3 separate regions of the Homo sapiens genome follow, and all the other regions are linked to region 3. Evidence: promoter capture Hi-C in 16 types of primary human blood cells and fetal thymus (Javierre and others, 2016). All regions are on one chromosome and are shown on one strand. Each heading gives the region's core, a stretch centred on a gene start or on the middle of the fragment in contact. The rest is flanking DNA. Distances are from core to core; before and after follow the strand shown.

Region 1 (2,828 bases), core at 13-2,512, 280 kb before region 3:
CTTGCTGCCCTGGGGTGTAGAGAGGTTTGTCAGTCTGTACAAAGGTGCCGTTCCCCTGCCTCTGAATTAGAACCTTTTTCTTCTCCTCAAAGCTGATGTTATTTCCAACTCCCGACACCCGGATTGTGGCCACTTCTTCTGTGCCACCAGCAGGAGGTGGTACCTGACCAAGAAAGGGGACTTCTGGGGAGGGGTAAGGGATTGGGGGAACAGAATCAACTGGTCTCAACCCAACAGTGAGTTAAAGGAAAGAGCTGAGTTAGATGGGGGTAGCAAGGATAGAGACATAAAACAAATTACCACGAGGAAGAATTAAGGTCAGGAACTAAAGGGAGAAATCCTAGGTCGAGGAAACCGTGGGTGAGTTATAGCCGGGGATTGAGGTTAAGTTGAGAAAAAATAGGTTTAGAGGCCGTGGCAAAAGATAACAGAAATTATACTTAAAGTAGATTATAGTGAGCCTAGGGAGGAGAATAGGCAAGTAAGGGATTCGAGTGAGGGCTGAGTCTGTGCTTACAAGAAAGGAGATACAATGTAAGTGCCTCTTCTTCAGTCCAGAGTATTCTAGCAACTTCTGGGTCTTGTCCTTGGTCTCCAGAGTAACCGTGAATTTAACATCACTGTACCCAGGGCTCAGGTCCAAACAAACCTTCTGAACGGAGGGGAAATTTAGCCGGGCTGGTAATGTCACCAGGTAGTTTCTATTAAAGGAGCAGAAGGATTTCAGGGCAATAATGATTCATTCACTCGAAAAATCCAGCACTCTCCTAAGCGCTCAGCAAGTAGCAGTGAATTAGACAGACCAAGCCCCTGCCTTCCTTATGCACCTCATTTTCTACAAGAAGCAGAGGGGCAACGACTCAGTGCACAGTCTTCAACTTCCGCCATCAGGAGGCCCTCACCGAGCACACATGCCTAGAGCACCAAGGAGGAAATTAGGCCTATTTCAGAAAACAGGGCACATTTTAATATTTATCTTTTTTAAAGCTTCCTCTTCATGCGTCAGCCTCCCTCTCTGGGTAAAGGATCAGTGGAACCAAAGAAGAGAAAAAAGGAGGAGGAAATTAAGATAAACCAAAGTTGATCTCCCCATCTCCATATAAATGTTTGAGAAAGTTAGGCGAAGAAGCCGCTGCCCTAATAAACCAATTCTGACACCAAGCACTCACGGAAGTTCTTCTGCAATGGCTGGTGATAGGGCCAACATTCCTAGAAGGAGCTGAGCCCACATCTTTGTGGGTGAGACAGATTTTTCCAGGGTCAGGGGCAGAGATCGCTCCGCGTAGCTTTATATACTAATTCCAGGTAGGGTGTGCAGTGATGACTGATGCTATAGTCAGTCACCTCCTGGCACCTGGAACACAGGAGGACTGTGTTCCTCCTTCTGTAACCACCAGGTTAGGTGGTGGACCAGGGTAGGGCCACTATTCACTTCTTTAAAGTTGTTTCTGCCTGGAACATCCATACTGGTTCAGCCAGTTTTGGGGGAAAACCAGAGCTGAGTATTCATAATGGTAAAGCTCTCAGAACATATTTTGAACTCCTCCCTTTTTTTCTGGTCTCATTCCAATTCCTGTTCTCATTTAATGTCCTTATTTTCTTTTATTATTCAATTAAGGTGTAGTTGGGAACACGGGTATGAGAACAGTTTCAATAGAAAAGCAGTAAACTTGGCCGGTCACAGTGGCTCACGCCTGTAATCCCAGCACTTTGGGGGGTTGAGGTGGGCAGATCACCAGGTCAGGAGTTCAAGACCAGCCTGGCCAACATAGTGAAACCCTGTCTCTACTAAAAATACAAAGAAAAAAAAATCAGCTGGGCATAGTGGTGGGTGCCTATAGTCCCAGCTACTTGGGAGGCTGAGGCAGGAGAATCGCTTGAACCCGGGAGGTGGAGGTTGCAGTGAGCCGAGATCATGCCACTTTACTCCAGCGTGGGTGACACAACGAGACTCTGTCTCAAAAAAAAAAAAAATTAATACTACTCAGTATTGTTGTGACTGTATGGAAATAGGGACACACACAGTCCTAGAGAAAATAGAATGTGGATAACTTTCTCATGGCAATTTTGTAATACACACCAAAGCCTTTGAGATTTGCATATTCTTTCACTCAGCAACTCCTACTCTGGAAATGTTTCTTAATGAGGAAAAAAAGGACAGCATGCATGTATGCACAAGTGTAACACTGAGTTTTTTCACACTGTTCTTTCTTTTTTTTCTTTTCTTTATTTTTTATTTTTTTGAAGTAGAGTCTCACTTTATCACCCAGGCTGGAGTGCAGTGGCACAATCTCAGCCCACTGCAGCTTTGACCTCCTGGGCTCAAGCGATCCTCCCACCTCCACCTCCTGAGTAGCTGGGACCACAGGTAGGCACCAACACTCCTGGCTAATTGTTTTGTATTTTTAATAGAGACAGGGTTTCACCATGTTGCCCAGGCTAGTCTCGAACTCCTGAGCTCCAGGGACCACCTCAGCCTCCCAAAGTGCTGGGATTACAGGTATGAGCCACCGTGCCCAGCCCACAGTGTTCTTTATGATGGTAATACTTAGAAGTCACCTAAAATATAAATTAGTCTAAGTGCAGTGGCTCATGCCTATAATCCCAGCTTTTGGGAGTCAGAAGCTGGAGGATTGCTTGAGCCCAAGAGTTTGAGACCAGCCTGGGCAACATAGTGAGACCCCGTTTTGTAACCACCCAATGGATTCACCTTGCTTGCTGCCTAGACAGAGCCGATTTATCAAGACAGGGGAACTGCAATGGCAAAAGAGTAATTCACGCAGAGCCGGCTGTGTGGGAGACTGGAGTTTTATTATTACTTAAATCCT
Region 2 (2,922 bases), core at 387-2,886, 300 kb before region 3:
TTTTTGAGACAGAGTCTCACTCTGTCACTCAGGCTGGAGTGTAATGGTGTGTTCTTTGCTCACTGCAACCTCCGTCTCCTGGGTTCATGCAATTCTCCTGCCTCAGCCTCCCAAGTAGCTGGGATTGCAGGCATCCACCACCATGCTTGGCTAATTTTTGTATTTTTAGTAGAGACACGGTTTCACCAGGCTGGTCTTGAACTCCTAGCATCAGGTGATCCACCCACCTCGGCCTCCCAAAGTGCTGCACACCCAGCTAATTAAAAATTTTTTTGTACAGACAGGATCTTGCTATGTTGTCCAGGCTGGTCTTGAACCCTTGACCTAAAGAAATCCCTCTGCCTTGGCCTCCCAAAGCACTGGGATTACAGGAGTGAGCCACTGCACCTCAGCCAGCATGACTTCTTAAAATAAAAAGTAGGAGAGAGATGGATTTCAACACAAACCCCAAACACTAAAGATATAAATATAATACAACATCCAACGTCAACACTATCTTCTTTCCCTGACTTGTCTTGTTTCCAACCGCAGCACACACAAGATCTTTCTCTATGCCCAACTTTTATCTTCACCCTTCTCCGCTATCATTTTACCTGATTGTCAAAGCACATCTCGACTGAGAACTGAATTTTGTCAGCTACAACACCTCCACTGGGAAAAATGGCATAGATCACCAGGGAAGGATCAGGGGCCAGTCTCGAAGTGAAGGTCAGTGAGAGAGAGAAGGAGGCTTTCAGTCCTGAAAGAGAAGAGGGAATATACAGGAAAATCAGAATGCACATTCACCTGCCAACGGCATCTAACCATATGTACTTTTCACTGAGCCAGTGCAGGCACCATGGTGCAAGTTACTTCTCATTTTTCTCTTCTCCTGTGATAACTGTTAGTGCTCCAATTCCATTACTTCTGTGGATAAGAATTTTTTTATTTTATTTTATTTTATTTTATTTATTTTTTTTTTTTTTTGAGACGGAGTCTCGCTCTGTCGCCCAGGCTGGAGCGCAGTGGCATGATCTCGGCTCACTGCAAGCTCCGCCTCCCGGGTTCACGCCATTCTCCTGCCTCAGCCTCCCGAGTAGCTGGGACTACAGGGGCCCGCCCCGACGTCCGGCTAATTTTTTTTTGTATTTTTAGTAGAGACGGGGTTTCACCATGTTAGCCAAGATGGTCTCGATCTCCCGACATCGTGATCCGCCCACCTCGGCCTCCCAAAGTGCTGGGATTACAGGCATGAGCCACCGCGCCTGGCCAAGAATTGTTTTCTGGAATTTAAAAATATCCTGTTTGCTTCCGGGAAAAGCATGTACACTCACCTTTCTTCTTAGAGTTCAGGTGTTTCTGCCCCTCCATCACCAAACTTCCTTTCCCTATTAACTAAAGAAGAAAAGAAAAGAATCAACTGCACAGAAGTTACAGTAATTTCACCTTGGACCAACTTCCAGAGCATCTCTGCATCCCTTCATGAGGAGAGGTTCCTTTCACAGTTCAGAGTCCGGGTCAATACCTCACCCAGCATCCACTAGCTTGACAAATGCAGGATGCTGCCAACGGGTCCTGGTGGCTCCTCCTGCAGTTGGAGGTCTGGCTGAGAACCACGCAGGTGGATGGGAGGAGTCTGACAGCATAGAAATTGTTCCTCACCATAGATAACTGTCTGCCATTTCTTGAAGATCTCCAAATTTTATTTTCTTATAATCTTTGTAACAGAAAGTCAGCGAAAATCTATCCTCATAAGTGTTTTTTAATTACAGCTCAATTTAAAATTCAGTGGAAATAATTTCATCCTAAACCACCCTGAGCCCTTCTGACATTGAACCCTCTAGAGGAGAAATCTCCTCTTCTAACTCCCCCTTCCCGTCCACTCTCACTTGAAACAGAACTCGGTGATCTTGTTTGCAAGCAGGCTCTCATCCCACGCTCCTGCAGGGCTCCAAGGTCGGTTCCTTGGACGCCTGCCCAGCATTAGCCATTCCACGTGGCTCGGCCCTAACTTCACTTTTGTCCTACACCTCCCCACACTTCGGTCCTGAAGACAGAGCCCGCTTTATCACTGGACTTGTTATTTTCCACCTATCTTTTCTCTTTTCGTTGTATTAGGATGATTTTTTTTTTTTCACTTAACGACAACACTGAAACCATGGAAGCTACTGCAATGATCCAGAGGGGAGAAAGTCTCTCATAGACTGACAGGAGGATAACGGAACAAAGAGGCTCCGAGCCATCAAACCTGAGGTTTCCATTCTACTTCCTGACTGTCACCAAGGTGACAGGAAAGCTGCTTATCCTTATACATTGCTTTCAGGCTACCAAGTTATGATTTTATTTCCCCAATGAGGCTGCTATCGATGTGAATTTAACCCCATATCATCTATTTGATAATATTGACCAATGGAACACAGAATGAAATGTATCCTGGCTGGGCTCGGTGGCTCATGCCTGCAGTCCCAGCACTTTGGGAGGCCAAGGTGGGCAGATCACCTGAGGTCAGGAGTTCAAGACCAGCCTGGCCAACATGGCGAAACCCTGTCTCATATAAATTAAAAAAAAAAAAAAAGTATCCTGAGTCCCATCCCTCCCCACTCTCCCTCCCAACCACCCAGCTGGTTTTGTTTTTGTTTTTGTTTTTTTTGGTCCTGGCCAGCACTATTTTCTCAGGTAATTCCTCATTTTATTTTCCCACACAATTTTCCTGTGTTCCTGCTCAGAATCTCTTTCTTCCCCCAATGTTTTCCATCTCTTACACCTATACTGGGCCATGCAGTATCTCATAGCCACATAGGAATATTGAATACTTGAGGCCGGGCGCGGTGGCTCATGCCTGTAATCCCAGCACTCTGGGAGACTGAGGCAGGTGGATCACGAGGTCAGGAGATCGAGACCATCCTAGTTAACATGGTGAAACCCCGTCTCTACTAAAAATAC
Region 3 (3,070 bases), core at 172-2,671:
TTTTTTTTTTTTGAGACAGAGTCTCACTCTATCGCCCAGGCTGGAGTGCAGTGGTGCAATTTTGGCTCACTGCAACCTCTGCCTCCCAGGATCAAGCTATTCTCCTGTCTCAGCCTCTCAAGTATCTGGAATTACAGATGCGTGCCACCACACTTGGCTAATTTTTGTATTTTTAGTAGAGGTGGGGTTTCACCATGTTGGCCAGGCTGGTCTCAAACTCCTGACCTCAAATGATCCACCCACCTTGGCCTCCCAAAGTGTTGGAATTACAGGCATGAGCCACTGCTCCCGGCCCAGAGAACCATTAAATTCTAATATCTAATTGAAATTGCTTTTTCTGACCTTCAAATACATTTCTCCTACTGTAGGCTGTAACATAGAACTAAAATCCCCAAATAATTGAGAACAGGAGAATTAAACTGCCTGCTGGGTCTCTGAGACTTCAGAAGCTGCGTTATGTTGTGAAAAACTAAGCTGAGTTTCAAAGTGGTCTAATCACATGAGGCTGTCCTGCTGAGGGGGACTCTAGTAGTCAGCCTAGTAGTAGCAGCCTAGTAGTCAGCATAAGATAAGAGGGACATAAATCCACAACATTAGAATATTCAAGAGCTGCAAATGAAGAAGAAAGAAAAACCATAAAAGATGAAAAAGAGGACGGGCGCGGTGGCTCACGCCTGTAATCTCAGGACTTTGGGAGGCTGAGGCGGGCGGATCACGAGGTCAGGAAATTGAAACCATCCTGACGACCACAGTGAAACCCCGTCTCTGCTAAAAATACAAAAAATTAGCCAGGCGTGGTGGCGAGCGCCTGTAGTCCCAGCTACTCGGGAGGCTGAGGCAGGAGAATGGCTTGAACCCGGGAGGCGGAGCTTGCAGTGAGCGGAGATCATGCCACTGCACTCCAGCCTGGACGACAGAGCGAGACTCTGTCTCAAAAAAAAAAAAAAAAAAAAAGATGAAAAAATTCAGGTTGCCATGTCCTAAATACATACACTATATGCCCAGCTTTGTGCTATGTTGTCTAAGTCTTCTTTTCAGTTACCAAATGTGTGGATGGTACAGATCCAAAGTGAAATTCAGAGTGCAGAGGTGAGCTCCATATTGTCAAGGAAAAACTGGGGGATGAGTTATGCCTTGAAGAAACTAGAGACATTTGGTCCAACGAAACGAAACAACATTTAAAAAAAAAACTCTCCTGTTTCCCCATGGCTAGCCTATTTGTGTTGATGCTTACCATTTCATAATTTCCTCATTTTGTTGTTACATGGAGTGAAGAGAACTGACATGCTGTCCAATAAACTTCCTTGTCCTCCTTATGCAAGAAAGGAAATCCTGACTTAATGCGTAGCCACAGAACAAGTTAATATTCTACATCTATCGGAGCTGAACTTCCTAAAAGACAAAGTGTTTATCTTTCAAGATTCATTCTCCCTGAATCTTACCAACAAAACACTCCTGAGGAGAAAGAAAGAGAGGGAGGGAGAGAAAAAGAGAGAGAGAGAAACAAAAAACCAAAGAGAGAGAAAAAATGAATTCATCTAAATCATCTGAAACACAATGCACAGGTAAAATCTGCAACTCTTCCTTTCCTTCCATAGATCTCTTTTTGGAACAAGTGATAAATATGGTGAAAGACAGGACAATAGAAAAGTATTCACTGAAGTTAAAAAAAAAAGTGGGGGGACAGAGGAAGAGAGAGAGAGAGATTTAAAGACTATTTCTTATACCAGAAAGCCTGCTGGCCTCTAGCTAAGGGAGAGCTATCAGTTTCCACCCTTTCTGCAATACATTGTGTCCCTTTTGGCAAGTCACTTCACTTCTCTGGAACTCTCTTTGTCTGTAAAATGTTTAATGGGAGGAAGAGAGGAACTATTAGATGACTGTTAACATTTTACCTAATTTACAAAGCGCTTGAAAAGTGAGACACAGAAAAAAAAAAAAGATCAGGAGAAGGACAAGAAAAGCAAAGACGAGAAAAGGGAAAAGAAAGAAAAAGAAAGAAGGGGGGCCTTAGAAAATACTGAAAAAAATTTAACTGAGAGACTTAGAAAGGAAAAATTGTATATCTGAGTTCATGAGTCAGAGTCTTACTCCAGGGGTGCTAAACGTGTGGTCCTCAGACCAGCAGCAGCAGTAGCCCCTGGGAACTTGTTGGTTCCATACAAACTCTACTGAGTTGCTAACTCTGGGGGTAAGGGTCAGCAATCTGTGTTTCCATAAACCCTCCAAGTGATTCTGAAGCATGCTGAAATTTGGGAATTACTCAGTACAAACAATGGAAGTAGAAGGAAATAAGTAAGGATGAATAAGAATCTCTTCTATCTCTTTTGTACCTTGCTTAGGGAAGATTGATCATGTTTGTGTCTTTCTTTCTACAGAGAGAGGATGCTTCTCTTCCCAAATGTTCTTATGGACTGTTGCTGGGATCCCCATCCTATTTCTCAGTGCCTGTTTCATCACCAGATGTGTTGGTGGGTTCTGAAGGTCAAATTCAATTTAATTCTTCCTGGTGCATATTAGGAGAAAACTCTTCCATGCTGCCTGTAGACTCTCTTTGCCCTCAAAGGGTCTTTCTATTTCACCCTTTTTTTTTTCCCTATTAATCTCTAGGTTATTTCTCAAACCAGAAACCTCAACAAGCAGGGAACTGTTTCTGAATTTTAATCACCTGTGACTTACTTTTCATGATAGACATTTTTCACTTCCTTGGCAGTCCTGAATCCTCCTCTTTCAGCCTCTATCATTAGTGTAACCTTCTCTAGGAGAGTCTGCCTTAGAGCTTGAACTACTGGTCGGCACCAGAGATATGACTAATTACTTTTGGAAGGAAGGGTAGAGAGAGTTGGACTTGGCATAAGAGGTAGTGCAAACATATCTATTTTCTCTGGGTCGTAAGAAAAAGCAGATTGTAAGAAAAAACATGATAATTATTGGCACTTTTGTTATAAATACAAAACTGAGGGAACTGACATTTTTAACCGAAATAAGACTAACAAACATTATGCCCTTTCTTTTACAGTGACATTTCGCATCTTTCAAACCTGTGATGAGAAAAAGTTTCAGCTACCTG

Evidence for each region. The method cuts DNA at HindIII sites, captures the fragments that hold promoters and counts their contacts. A CHiCAGO score of 5 or more calls a contact.
Region 1: the fragment with the promoter of A2ML1 here is called in contact with the fragment with the promoter of CLEC4E in region 3 in 6 of 17 cell types (M2 macrophages, endothelial precursors, naive CD8 T cells and 3 more); the score reaches 6.5 in M2 macrophages.
Region 2: a contact is called between a fragment that was not itself captured here and the fragment with the promoter of CLEC4E in region 3, in 4 of 17 cell types (naive CD8 T cells, endothelial precursors, non-activated CD4 T cells and 1 more). The highest score is 6.8, in naive CD8 T cells.

What each region holds. Positions count from the first base shown.
Region 1 is chr12:8,821,055-8,823,882 of GRCh38, reverse strand. It overlaps A2ML1 (alpha-2-macroglobulin like 1), which reads right to left and starts at 1,262. Exons shown (of 36, transcript NM_144670.6): 1 at 1,170-1,262; 2 at 518-701; 3 at 1-163. The coding sequence starts at 1,231. All of the region lies in intron 1 of A2ML1-AS1 (A2ML1 antisense RNA 1), which reads left to right. The HindIII fragment of the contact is 3,171 bases long and covers 990-2,828 here.
Region 2 is chr12:8,843,894-8,846,815 of GRCh38, reverse strand. A2ML1 (alpha-2-macroglobulin like 1) reads right to left here. Exons shown (of 36, transcript NM_144670.6): 13 at 1,314-1,374; 14 at 594-739. Among named protein-coding and RNA genes, the nearest start is that of A2ML1-AS1, 14 kb to the right of the region's middle. The HindIII fragment of the contact is 7,718 bases long and covers 1-2,922 here.
Region 3 is chr12:8,539,256-8,542,325 of GRCh38, reverse strand. CLEC4E (C-type lectin domain family 4 member E) reads left to right here and starts at 1,421. Exons shown (of 6, transcript NM_014358.4): 1 at 1,421-1,565; 2 at 2,379-2,471; 3 at 3,020-3,070. The coding sequence starts at 1,529. The HindIII fragment of the contact is 5,761 bases long and covers 1-3,070 here.